3 separate regions of the Homo sapiens genome follow, and regions 1 and 2 are each linked to region 3. The links are contacts of gene promoters, found by promoter capture Hi-C in human tissues and cell types (Jung and others, 2019). All regions are on one chromosome and are shown on one strand. The core of a region is centred on a gene start or on the middle of the fragment in contact, and the rest is flanking DNA. Distances in the headings are between cores, read along the strand shown.

Region 1 (4,284 bases), core at 1,614-4,113, 34 kb before region 3:
TGAGTCACCAGAGGTCAGGAGTTTGAGATCAGCTTGGCCAACATGGTGAAACCCCGTCTCTACTAAAAATACAAAAATTAGCCGGGTGTGGTGGCACACACCTATAATCCCAGGTAATCCTACTCAGGAGGCTGAAGCAGGAGAATTGCTTGAACCTGGGAAGCAGAGGTTGCAGTGAGCTGAGATCGTGCCACTGCACTCCAACCTGGGGCAACATAGCAAGACTTTGTCTCAAAACAAACAAACAAAAAAACTATTAGTGCTGGGTGCAGTGGCAGTTGCCTGTAATCCCAGCAGTCTGGGAGGCTGAGGTGGGAGGAATGCTTGAGCCCAGGAGTTTGAGATCAGCCTGGGCAATATAGGAAGACCCTATCTCTACAAAAATTTAAAAAATATAGTCTAGTGTGATGGCACATACCTGTGGTCCCAGCGTAGATGCGAGGGTTGCATGAGCCTGGGAGGTTGAGGCTACTATGATCATGCCATTGCATTTCAGCCTAGAGAACAGAGTGAGACCCTGTCTAAAAGAACTGATTGGTAAAATATCTGGTCCCGTTAGAGTGGGATATAGGGCCTCTGGTCTTATGGGACTGATGAAGGTGCTATGCCTCGGTGGGCATAGGCTCCTGAGCATGCATATGTTTGTGGGAGCTGGTACAAACAAGTTAGATAAGGGACTGCACTTGGAAACATGGGCTGTAAGTGATTAATTAAGCAAAGGTTGACCAGGTGGTTTCATAGAGGCAGTATCATATTATCCTAGGTGACATTGTTAAGGACCTGCTAAATATCTAGCTGTTGGGCCTAGAAATAGAATAAGAGAAGGTTTTTTGCTTCATATAGCTTAGAGTCTAGTTGTGAAAAGTAAGAACTCAGGATTTCTTTTCCTTCGAATTATTTATAAGGCAGAATAATTATGACATATACACAAAGACAAACTGGGAATTTAGAAATTCTAGGTTAAGAAGTCAACAGAGGTCTTTGTGGACAAAATGACGTTTGAACTGTAGTTTATTTATTTTTGAGACAGGTTGTTGCTTTGTTTCCCAGGTAGGAGTATGGTAGTGATCATAATTCACTGTAGCCTCTAACTCCTGGGCTCATAAAATCCTCCCGCCTCAGCCTCCCAAGTAGCTGGGACTATAGGCACAGACTACCACACTCGGCATATATATATATTTGTAGAGACAGGGTCTCACTGTGTTGCCCAGGCTGCTCTTGAACTCCTGGCCTCAAGTGATCCTCCCACCTTGGCCTCCCAGAATGTTGGGATTACAGGCATGAGCCACTGCACCCTGCCTTGAACTGTTGAACTGTAGTTTATAGTTTAGATAAACAAAAGAATGGAACAGCATAAATACAGAGCCAAGGATGGACAGAAGGGACATGCCCTAATGCAACTTGAGAAGGGAACTGTGAGAATGGAGTTAGTATTGAGGGGTGGGGGTGGGGTTGTTGCCTTCCCAAAGTAGAACTGAGTTTGATCTAATCTGTGGTAGGAAATCAGGAATTTCCTAGATTTGTGGTAACAGGAGGAATCAAGTAGATGTGTGTAGAATTGACTGCATATAGGAGAAACTAGCCAGTAGATTTGTAACAGGTCTCTATGCTCAGCTTTTGTTCACAGAGATGGAGCCCATTAGGCCTCCCCTAGCTCTCCTGGGCCTGATGGTCCAATTGCAGGTCAGTGCCTCATTTGGTACTTAGTGGTCTCTGTTTATAATTTCCATGTCTGGGTCTTCAGCAGGAGAAGATCCTTTCTGGAGTTCATTTTAGTGGGCCAGTGTTCTTCAGAGGCTGTATCTGATTTGGGAAAGTCTTAGAGTGATTTACATGAAGTTATTATTACCAGAAATAGAAAAATTGTGAAGAATCCCGATTTTCCATCCCAAGGGAAAGATGCCAAGGGAAAGATGAGTTTGTCTATATATACCACAAACATCCCTCTCCCCTCTTATGCAGGCTCTGTGCTAGGAGCTGGGGAATAGAGATGAATAAGACAGTCTTTTCTACCCTTGGACCACTTTACAGCACATGCAGAAGACAGTCAAGTTGAACCCTAAGGGGAGCTAGTGACAAAATGTGTTCCTTCATCTGCCACAGGTTGGAGAGGGCCATACCTTTTATGAAAGCTATCATATCTTCTGTCTTTAAAACCAGATTTATGGTGAAATCTCACTTCCTCACACCAACCGCCATCTGTGGCCCCATTTTTCTGTTCTACTTTATTGCCAGAACTCTAAAGAAACATTATCTACACAAGCTGGGCTCTAGATGCTGTAAAAATTTCCCTTCAACTCATGACTAAATCTGTTCTTGTCAAGGTCAGCAGTGACCCCCCTATAGCCAGTTCAGACCAGCAAGTATGTTTTTATCCTACAGCAACATACAACACAGCAGCCCATTGTTGAGACTTGTTTTTTTTTTTTTTTTTTTGAGACAGGGGGTCTCATTCTGTCACCCAGGCTGGAGTGCAGTGGTGCGATCTCGGCTCACTGCAACCTCCGCCTCCCGAGTTCACACCATTTTGCCTCAGCCTCCCGAGTAGCTGGGACTACAGGCGCCCGCCACCACACCCGGCTAATTTTTTGTATTTTTAGTAGAGACAAGGTTTCACCATGTTAGTCAGGATGGTCTCGATCTCCTGACCTCGTGATCCACCTGCCTCGGCCTCCCAAAGTGCTGGGATTACAGGCGTGAGCCACCGCGCCTGGCCGAGACTTTCTTTAGACTTGCATGTTATTACACATTCCTGATTTTCCTCCTACCCATCTGAATCTTCTTTATTCCCAGGAGGCTTACCGGTGCCTTCTCCTCCTCTCTCTGAATCATACATGTTGATGTTCCTGAGGGTTCAGTATTTGGCCCTCTTCTCCCTAAGGGATTTCTTTCCATTGCCATGGTTTTCAGCATCCTCCAGATGATTCTTGCTGCTGCTGAAGATGATAATCACTGATACTATCTGCCAGTACTACTGTTCTTGATGTTTAACATATTCTTCTAATTTTCACATTAACCTTATGAAGTATGTACTGATACTTCTGTTTTACAGATGAGGAAACTCAGGCACAGAGAGATTAAGTGACAAGGCCAAAGCCATGCTTAAAAAGTGGCAGAATTGGCCAGGCGTGGTGGCTCACACCTATAATCCCAGCACTTTTGGAGGCCGAGGTGGGTGGATCACGAGGTCAGGAGTTAAAGACCAGCCTGGCCAAGATGGTGAAACCCCGTCTCTACTAAAAAATAAAAAAATAAAAAAATTAGCTGGGCATGGTGGTGGGCGCCAGCTACCTGGGAGGCTGAGGCACAGAATTGCCTGAACCTGGGAGGTGGAGGTTGCAGTGAGCCGAGATCGCGCCACTGCACTCCAGCCTGGGTGACAGAGCGAAACTCCATCTCAAACAAACAAACAAAAAAGGGGCAGAATTGAGATTCAACCCTGCATGGGCTGGCCCTGGAGCCTGTGTCTTAATCCCTGTGCTGCACTGACACATAAGTCTCTCGGCCATGCCTTCCTCTGTTTGGAACCTTTTCCACATATTCAGCTGCCTACTTAGCATTTACTTGGACTTATTGACAATACCTCAGATCTTCATTGGCACCATTTCTAAAACTGTCAAACTTCCTTGTCTCAGAAAGTAGTGCTGCTCTCCGCCTAGTTGTTCAAACCAGAAACCCAGGAGTCATCTTTGTGTCTGCTTTCCCTTACTCCCCACAACCAGTTCATCAACAAGCCATGTTGGTTCTACCATCACACCTCTCAAAATCTCTTATATCATCTCCACTGCCACCACTATAGTCTAGGCCACCAGTACTTGCTTCCATTCTTGTTCTTCAATTTATTCTTCATAGAATAATCATAAAATACAAGATTATGTCACTTCCTAGCTTAAAACTCTCCAAGGCTTCCATTATATGTAGGAACAAATTTACACCACAATGTACAATACTCTGTATGAGTAGCTTTCAACCTGGGTTGCATTATTGCCTCCTCCACCCACTGATAGACATTTGGACACGTTTGGAAGAATTTTTGGAAGATGCTTGGGAATGTTAACTGACATTTAGTGTTTGGAAGCACACAGTGAAGGGGGCCTGCTACAGAAGCACTGCCTCCCATGCTCTAGCCACTGCCTACTTGTTCAGCCAGACTCCTGGATTTCCAGTTTGGGTAAATGATGTTGCCATTGAACGAAGGAGAGAGGTAACTCAGGAGAATAGATCTGGGCAGGGAAGCTAATGAATACTCTTTGTAGATGTTAGTTTGAGGTGGCTATGAGTTGT
Region 2 (4,403 bases), core at 1,100-3,599, 64 kb after region 3:
GGCAGATCACTTGACGTCAGGAGTTTGAGACCAGCTAAGTTGTGGCCAACATGGTGAAACCCCGTCTCTAATAAAAATACAAGAATTAGCTGGGCGTAGTGGCGGGCGCCTGTAATCCCAGCTACTTGGGAAATCAGGAGGCTGAGGCAGGAGAATCGCTTGAACCCGGGAGGCAGAGGTTGCAGTGAGCCGAGATCGTGCCACTGCACTCCAGCCTGGGTGATAGAGCAAAACTCCATCTCAAAAAAATAAAAAATAAATACACACACACACACACACACACACACACGTCAGCTGTATGCATCTCCCAGCAGCCTTCTGTAAGAGACACTACTGGGATCCCCACATCAAGGTGGGGGTGACTGCCAGGCACAGTGGTTCATGCCTGTGGTCCCAGCTACTCAGGAGGCTGAGGCGGGAGAATTGCTTAGCCCAGGAGTTCAACACCACAGCCAGCCTGGCAACACAGCAAAACCCTGTCTCTTAAAAAAAAAAAAAAAAAAAAAAAAAAAAAAAAAAGTGCCGGGCGCAGTGGCTCACGTCTGTAACCCCAGCACTTTGGGAGGCAGAGGCAGGCGGATCACCTGAGGTCAGGAGTTCGAGACCAGCCTGGCCAACACGGTGAAACCCCGTCTCTACTAAAAATATAAAAATTAGCTGGGTGTTGTGGCGGGCGCCTGTAATCCCAGGTATTCGGGAGGCTGAGGCAGTAGAATTGCTTGAACCCAGGAGATGGAGGTTGCAGTGAGCCGACATGGTACCACTGCACTCCAGCCTCGGTGACAGAGTGAGACTCCGTCTCAAAAAAAAAAAAAGTAAAGGAGATAATTACACATATTAGGTTGATAGTACACAGAAGATTGGAGACTCTCTCTCTCAAAAATCTACTACAAACCTGATGAGATTCTGAGACCACTAATTAAGGGAAAATGTAGTGTCACTGCACCTCATCCAGTAATGGACACCAGGAAGGATCTACAGGAAAGCCAGATTCCCCAGAGTCCTCTGAGCAAAAGCAGCACAGAGATGGAGAAAAACAGTGAGAAAATGATACTCTAGAATAATATATTCTAAAAGGTAGTCTCAGCAAGGAGGCTACCTTCTCCCTGATTTGGGTCACAAGAGAGAACTGACTGAACCCCCATCTCAACTCCCCAGCAGTTTTCCAGAGGAAGCAGTGGCCACCTTGAGCCATCTTGGCCTCCTGGCAGGAGGGCCAAAACAAATCTTCTAAACAATATTAAGCCAGATTAAAGGTAAAAATCTGTCTGAGTACAAACAGCTGAGCTTTCTAAGGAACGAACTAGTATTCACACCATTAGTCTTTAATGCTTGAAAGAGCTCAACAATCCATTTAGAATCTATCACAGTCAACACTTTCATAACTGAGTCCTTCACCCCCTGTCCCCTTGTTACCCTTTATAATTTGTTCAATTGTGAAGAGAAAACCTTTCAGTAGAATCAAGAAGAGCTCTTGCTGGGCTGTTGTAATGAAGGAGCTAACAACCTGTTGGTAGTTAGGATTAAGTATTATCAAGACAACTTATAAAGAAAAGGCCAAATCTTTTCCAAAAGAAAAATGGATCCAGGGTAGTAAACAACCAATGTAAGCCAAAAAAAAAAAAAGACTAATGACTTAGAAGGAACACATGTGACCAATGTGGTGTTCAGAAGAAACTTGCAGTTCTATTAGATCAACATGTAACCAGAGGATTAAAAGTCCTATTTATTTATGAATGCTTTTTCTTTTTCGTTTCTGTTGAGATGGAGTGTCATTCTGTCGCCCAGGCTAGAGTACAGTGGCGCGACGCTGGCTCACTGCAACCTCTGCTTCTCGGGTTCAAGTGATTCTCCTGCCTCAGCCTCCCAAGTAGCTGGGATTACAGGCACTCAACACCACGCCCAGCTATTTTTGGTATTTTTACTAGAGATGGGATTTCACCATGTTGGCCAGGCTGGTCTCGAACTCCTGACCTCAAGTGATCATCCTGCCTCGGCCTCCCAAAGTGTGGGGATTATGGGCATGAGCCACCACACCCGGCACTATGAATGCTTTTTCTATTTCTAGAAACATTAACTGAGGAAAAAACTAGAAATTAAAAACTAGAAAGTTTCTTGTCCAAAAGGAGTCTCAAGATAATTACTGAGTAATCTGAGTCTCTAATCAGAGATAAAAAAGGTATCTATTGTTCCCTCCATATCAAGGGCCAAAAAGGGTACCATTCATTAGGTTACTGTTTCCAGCAAACCCATTCTCCAATTCATTTCCACTATTCCCCAGAGGAAATCTCATCCCTGTTTAAAGAGCAAACCCTAAGATGGTGGAATCTCTTTGACAGTCATTTTGTACATTCACAAAACCATGAGTAAAGAATACTTACAGGCTGGGTGTGGTGGCTCAAGCCTGTAATCTCAGCACTTTGGGATGCCAAGGTGGCAGGATTACTTGAATTCAGAAGTTTGAGACCAGCCTGGGCAAATAGTGAGATCCTATACGTAGAAAAAAACTTTTTTTTTTTTTTGAGACAGAGTCTCACTCTGTTGCTCCGACTGGAGTGCAGTAGTGCGATCCTGGCTCACTGCAAGCTCTGCCTCCCGGGTTCACGCCATTCTCCTGCCTCAGCCTCCTGAGTAGCTGGGACTACAGGTGCCCACCACGATGCCTTAGTAGAGACGGGGGTTTCACAGTGTTAGCCAGGATGGTCTCGATCTCCTGACCTTGTGATCCGCCTGCCTCGGCCTCCCAAAGTGCTCGGATTACAGGCGTGAGCCACCAAGCCCGGCCTTTTCTTTTTTTTGCGACAAAGTCTCGCTCCTGTCCCCACGCTGGAATGCAATGGCGCGATCTTGGTTCACTGCAACCTCCGCCTCCCAGGTTCAAGCGATTCTCCTGTCTCGGCCTCCCAAGTAGCGGTGATTACAGGCACCTGCCACCACTCCCGGCTAATTTTTGTATTTTAGTAGAGAGTGTTTCACCATGTTGGCCAGGCTGGTCTCAAACTCCAGACCTCAGGTGATCCACCCGCTTCGGCCTCCCAAAGTGCTGGGATTACAGGTGTGAGCCACCACGCCCAGCCAAAACATTTTTTTTTTAATTAGCTGGGCATGGTGGCATGTGCCTGTAGTCCCAGCTACTCAGGAGGCTAAGGTAGGAGGATCGCTTGAGCCCAGGAGGTAGAGGCTGCAGTGAGCCATGATCACGCCACTACGCTCCAGCCGGGGTGACTCAGCAAGACACTGTTTCAAGAAAATGAATAATGGCTGGGCGTGGTGGCTCACACCTGTAATCCCAGCACTTTGGGAGGCCAGGTGGGCGGATCATGAGATCAGGAGATCGAGACCATCCTGGCTGACACGGTGAAACCCCGTCTCTACTAAAAATACAAATAATTAGCCGGGCGTTGTGAGGCACCTGTAGTTCCAGCTACTCAGGAGGCTGAGGCAGGAGAATGGCGTGAACCCGGGAGGCGGAGCTTGCAGTGAGCCGAGGTCGCACCACTGCCCTCCAGCCTGGGAGACAGAGCGAGACTCCGTCTAAAATAAAAAATAAAAAAAAGAAAATGAATAATCATGTTTAATAACTATAATACTTTTCAAAGCTTATGGGGTCTAACTGCCAAAATCATAAATTAAAAATTCACAGATTATTCCTGATTTTAATTCAGTTTGGCTCATAATTTGATAAGATGTTGATTTCAATTGATGAATTTCAATCTACTCAGAATTGCTGGCCAGGCGCGGTGGCTTACACCTGTAATGCCAGCACTTTGGGAGGCCGAGGCGGGCAGGTCACCTGAGGTCGGGAGTTTGAGATCAGCCTGGCCAACATAGTGAAACCCTGTCTCTACTAAAAATATAAAAATTAGCCGGGCATAGTGGTGGGCACCTGTAATCCCAGCTACTTGGGAAGCTGAAGTATGAGAATCGGTTGAACTCGAGAAGCAGAGGTTGCAGTGAGCCAAGATCGCGCCACTGCACTCTAGCTTGGGTGACAAGAACGAGACTGCGTTTAAAAAAAAAAAAATTGCTGACAGTAGAAATACTAAGATATTCTTTCTTTATGCACATATACCAGGCAATATAAACTCCCTTGTTGCCAAATTCAAACATTTCTCATACCTTATCTTGCTGACAGAAATCAGACACTTAACTTCCTTCTGCCTTAATGACCCCCTCTTGATCTCTATGATGTCTTTTGCAGCACCTGTTCAGGTACTCTGTGCTCTTCCTCTTGTATCCCCATCTTGCCAGTGGGGGGCACCACATTCCCACTCCTCTCAAGGTAGGACTGTTGGCCTTTTCCTCCACGTCTCACTCTTCCTTAACCACTTTACCCTCTCCCATCATCACCACTCCAGTGTCCAATCTCTAGTTCTTCCTCTCCTCAGCACTCCCATCAGAAG
Region 3 (4,008 bases), core at 149-2,648:
GACATTTGGGAACCTTTGTGGGAGAAAGAAAAAGACCTTTCCTATTGGTAGAGGAGCAAGATACTCCAACTGAGGCCTATTTTCTATTATGGTCGCATTATTTGGTTGGCCCGTAAATGGCTGTTGCCTAAAACAGGAAGCTTTAAGGATCGTTGTTAAAGCACACCAGGTTAAAGGAGTCACATTAAAAGCTGGTCATTCTGAGCCGGGCGCGGTGGCTCACGCCTGTAATCCCAGCACTTTGGGAGGCCGAGGCAGGCGGATCACCTGAGGTCGGGAGTTCGAGGCTTGACAAACATGGAGAAACCCCGTCTCTATTAAAAATACAAAAGTAGCCGGGCGTGGTGGCGCGTGCCTGTAATCCCAGCTACTTGGGAGACTGAGGCAGGATAATCACTTGAACCCGGGAGGGGGAGGTTGCGGTGAGCCAAGATCACACCACTGTACTCCAGCCTGGGCAACAGGAGCGAAACTCCGTCTCAAAAAAAAAAAAAAAAAGTCTGGTAATTCTGGAAGCCATCATGATGGTTGTGATTTCTCAGGTATCAAGAGAAGAAAACCGCCAACTGTATCAGAGTGCTTATTTATTGGGCATAAAGACCACCCGGGCTGGGTGCAGTGGCTGATGCCTGTAATCCCAGCACTTTCGGAGGCCGAGGCGGGCAGGTCACGAGGTCAGGAGTTCGAGACCAGCCTGGCCAACATGGCGAAACCCCGTCTCTACTAAAAATACAAAAATTAGCCGGGCGTGGTGGCGGGCGCCCGTAATCCCAGCTACTCGGGAGGCTGAGGAGGAGAATCCTGTGAATCCGGGAGGTGGAGGCTGCAGTGAGCCGAGATCGTGCCACTGCACTCCAGCCTGGGAGACAAGAGCAAGACTCCGTCTCAAACAAACAAAAAAACACCCATATCTCAAACGAGAAAATGCTTGCAAATAACCTGAAACCGCGGAACACTATTCTTTTTAAAACGAGATATTTTAAGTAGGTCGTGAAAGTGGCCTTAATGTTATACTGCCTTATTCCAGTGACGAATATTCATCATGTGTAAAATGGGAGAAATGAAATGTTATTAAAACAAACATGTGAGACTTCGATGAGAAGAGACGGTACCCGGTCTAAGCGCCCACCGGGTCGCGAGGATCCTTTTCCTGGTTAAGGCCTGGGTCACAGCGAAAGAACCCTAGGCCCAGGGAGGGCCCCGAGATTTCAGATCCGGGGCCCGGCTGTGCAGGTGGACCACGCGGAAGGGGCGCTGGGGGCGGTAGGTCGAAAGCAGCCGACAGGGCTACCACTGGCGCACCTGTCCACTTACGGGGACCACCGCCGCATCCCCGCCCCAGCTAGTCGGTCCTTTCCGGAAGTTCCACCTCCCTAAATTTTTTTCCGGTTCCGCTTACTCCTTCCGGTCACCATGGCGACCAGGCGCCTTGGGGTCGGGGAGACGCTGGGGGCCCTCAACGCGGCCCTGGGGCCAGGCGGTCCGGTGTGGATCAAGGAGACGCGCACCCGCCACCTGCGTTCCCGAGACTTTCTGGCACCGCACCGCGCGCTGCAGGCGCGCTTCGATGACGGCCAGGTGGGCGTGAGCCGGGCGGGGCCGTGCGGCCGGGAGATGGGCCCCGTGCCGTGGCTCTTTTACACGCCCGTTCTCCCGCAGGTTCCGGAGCATTTGCTCCATGCCCTCGCCTGCCTGCAGGGCCCCGGTGTGGCCCCGGTGCTGCGCTGCGCGCCGACCCCCGCGGGTCTGTCTCTCCAACTGCAGCGGTCCGCCGTCTTCGAGCGCGTCCTCAGCGCCGTGGCCGCCTATGCCACGCCCGCCTCGCCTGCCTCGCTGGGCCAGCGCGTCTTACTACACTGCCCAGCACTGCGCAGCTCCCCCTGCGCACTCCGCTTGAGCCAGCTGCGTACGGTGCTCGTGGCCGATCACCTGGCGCGAGCCCTGCGCGCTCACGGGTGAGCGGGGCCGCGGGGCCGGAATGGAGAAAGTGGGACTGCCGGGTACCTAGAAAGCGAGCGGCGCCGCCCGTGGGGACTGCGGCTGGAGGTGGGAAGTCGTGGCGAGCTGGACCAGGTGCTCAGACTGAGGCGGCCGCCCTCCCTTCGCAGGGTGTGCGTGCGCCTAGTGCCAGCTGTGCGGGATCCGCACATGCTGACCTTCCTGCAGCAACTGCGGGTGGACTGGCCCGCTGCCTCGGAGAGAGCTTCCTCCCACACCCTGAGGAGCCACGCCCTTGAAGAACTTACCTCTGCTAATGACGGGAGGACACTGTCCCCTGGCATCCTAGGCAGACTGTGTCTGAAGGAGCTGGTGGAAGAACAGGGCCGCACAGCTGGCTATGACCCCAACCTGGACAACTGTCTGGGTAGGACCTGAAGCCTAGCAGGGCCAGAAAAGGCAGGAGGGGGTTAGGGGCACATCTCTGCTTCTTGTCAGTCTCAGCACCTGTCTGTTCTCTTTTCAGTGACTGAGGATCTCCTCTCTGTGCTGGCTGAGCTGCAAGAGGCTCTATGGCATTGGCCCGAGGACAGCCACCCAGGCCTGGTTAGTGACTCCCAGCCCTGTAGGTTCTCCCAAACCAAGTATACTGTACTTCCACAGTTATGATTGTCCTCCCTTAGGCTGGGGCCTCAGATACTGGTACAGGCGGCTGCCTGGTTGTACATGTTGTTAGCTGTGAGGAGGAGTTCCAGCAACAGAAGTTGGACCTGCTTTGGCAGAAGTTGGTTGACAAGGCTCCACTCAGACAGGTAGGTTAATAATGATGGTGGAGCTCCCCACCACCTAACCCCCAACCTCAGAGGGCCCTTGAAAACCCACCGAGGGGCTTGTTAGCTGACAGAAACCAACACTTGACCTTGGGGGAGTTGCTGGACTTGAGAGGGCATGTACAGCAGGTGCAGAGGCTCTGGGGAAGGGGGGTCTGTAGACACATCCCAAGAACACTGAAGACCAGGTTGAGAAGGATGAACCATGCGTAGCCTGAGTGGCTGGGTAGACGGAGGCACTCAACCTGGCAGTTCCAATTTGAGGGAGTCTGGGCTGAGTAGAGGCACCAGATTTGGGCTCCTCAAGGGACTTCCTGGAGAGTAGCGCCAACTAGGCTGAGCCCCTGACATCTTTCTGACAGAAGCACCTCATCTGTGGCCCTGTGAAAGTAGCTGGTGCACCTGGCACTCTGATGACTGCCCCTGAGTACTACGAGTGAGTGAGGCTGGGAGGAACACCAACCTAAGCCAGGGTAATGAGGGGGGACTCTTTACCCAGGACCCTGCCCACTGGCCTTCCTCTCTTCCAAACACAGGTTCCGGCATACCCAGGTGTGCAAGGCCTCAGCACTGAAGCATGGTGGGGATCTGGCACAAGGTGTGCCTGGGAAACCCTGGCTATGTTCTGGGTTAGGGGCAGGTTTTTTGCATCCCTGCCCTTGCCTGCAGACTGACTGACCAACCCTATACTCCCTCAGACCCAGCCTGGACAGAGATCTTTGGTGTTCTCTCTGTGGCCACCATCAAGTTTGAGATGCTGAGCACAGCCCCACAGAGTCAGGTGAGCCTGGGAGCCTGACAGGGCCAGTGTTGGGGCACAGGGTGTGGTGGCTGCCTTCTCTCTCTGCAGCTGTGCTTCTATTCCCCAGCTCTTCCTGGCTCTGGCTGACAGCAGTATCTCCACGAAGGGCACAAAGAGTGGCACCTTTGTCATGTATAATTGTGCCCGTCTTGCCACACTCTTTGAGAGTTACAAGTGTAGTATGGAACAAGGTCTGTACCCCACTTTTCCTCCTGTGAGCAGTCTGGACTTCTCACTGCTACATGATGAGGTGAGTGTCCCTCCTGGTAGCTGGCACAAGGAGGCCTGGACTTCCCCTCCCAGCACCTTTCTCCCCAACAGGGTGAGTGGTTGTTGCTCTTCAACAGTATCCTCCCCTTTCCGGATCTGCTGAGCCGGACAGCAGTGCTGGACTGCACAGCCCCGGGGCTCCACATTGCTGTACGCACAGAGATGGTG

What was found. The method cuts DNA at HindIII sites, captures the fragments that hold promoters and counts their contacts. A contact is called where the count stands out against the background at its distance.
Region 1: a fragment that was not itself captured here is called in contact with the fragment with the promoter of DALRD3 in region 3 in 2 of the 25 tissues and cell types used here (adrenal gland and pancreas).
Region 2: a contact is called between a fragment that was not itself captured here and the fragment with the promoter of DALRD3 in region 3, in 3 of the 25 tissues and cell types used here (adrenal gland, hippocampus and pancreas).

The regions. Positions count from the first base shown.
Region 1 is chr3:49,051,639-49,055,922 of GRCh38, reverse strand. The region is part of intron 3 of QRICH1 (glutamine rich 1); the gene reads left to right. Among named protein-coding and RNA genes, the nearest start is that of IMPDH2, 24 kb to the right of the region's middle. The HindIII fragment of the contact is 9,844 bases long and covers 1-4,284 here.
Region 2 is chr3:48,952,556-48,956,958 of GRCh38, reverse strand. The region is part of intron 3 of ARIH2 (ariadne RBR E3 ubiquitin protein ligase 2); the gene reads right to left. Among named protein-coding and RNA genes, the nearest start is that of ARIH2OS, 35 kb to the right of the region's middle. The HindIII fragment of the contact is 8,935 bases long and covers 1-4,403 here.
Region 3 is chr3:49,015,970-49,019,977 of GRCh38, reverse strand. DALRD3 (DALR anticodon binding domain containing 3) reads left to right here and starts at 1,398. Exons shown (of 12, transcript NM_001009996.3): 1 at 1,398-1,578; 2 at 1,660-1,955; 3 at 2,109-2,365; 4 at 2,465-2,544; 5 at 2,622-2,750; 6 at 3,131-3,204; 7 at 3,305-3,366; 8 at 3,467-3,549; 9 at 3,638-3,820; 10 at 3,892-4,005. The coding sequence starts at 1,414. RefSeq lists a silencer at 2,168-2,402 and enhancers at 1,851-2,622, 2,908-2,977. The HindIII fragment of the contact is 18,150 bases long and covers 1-3,894 here.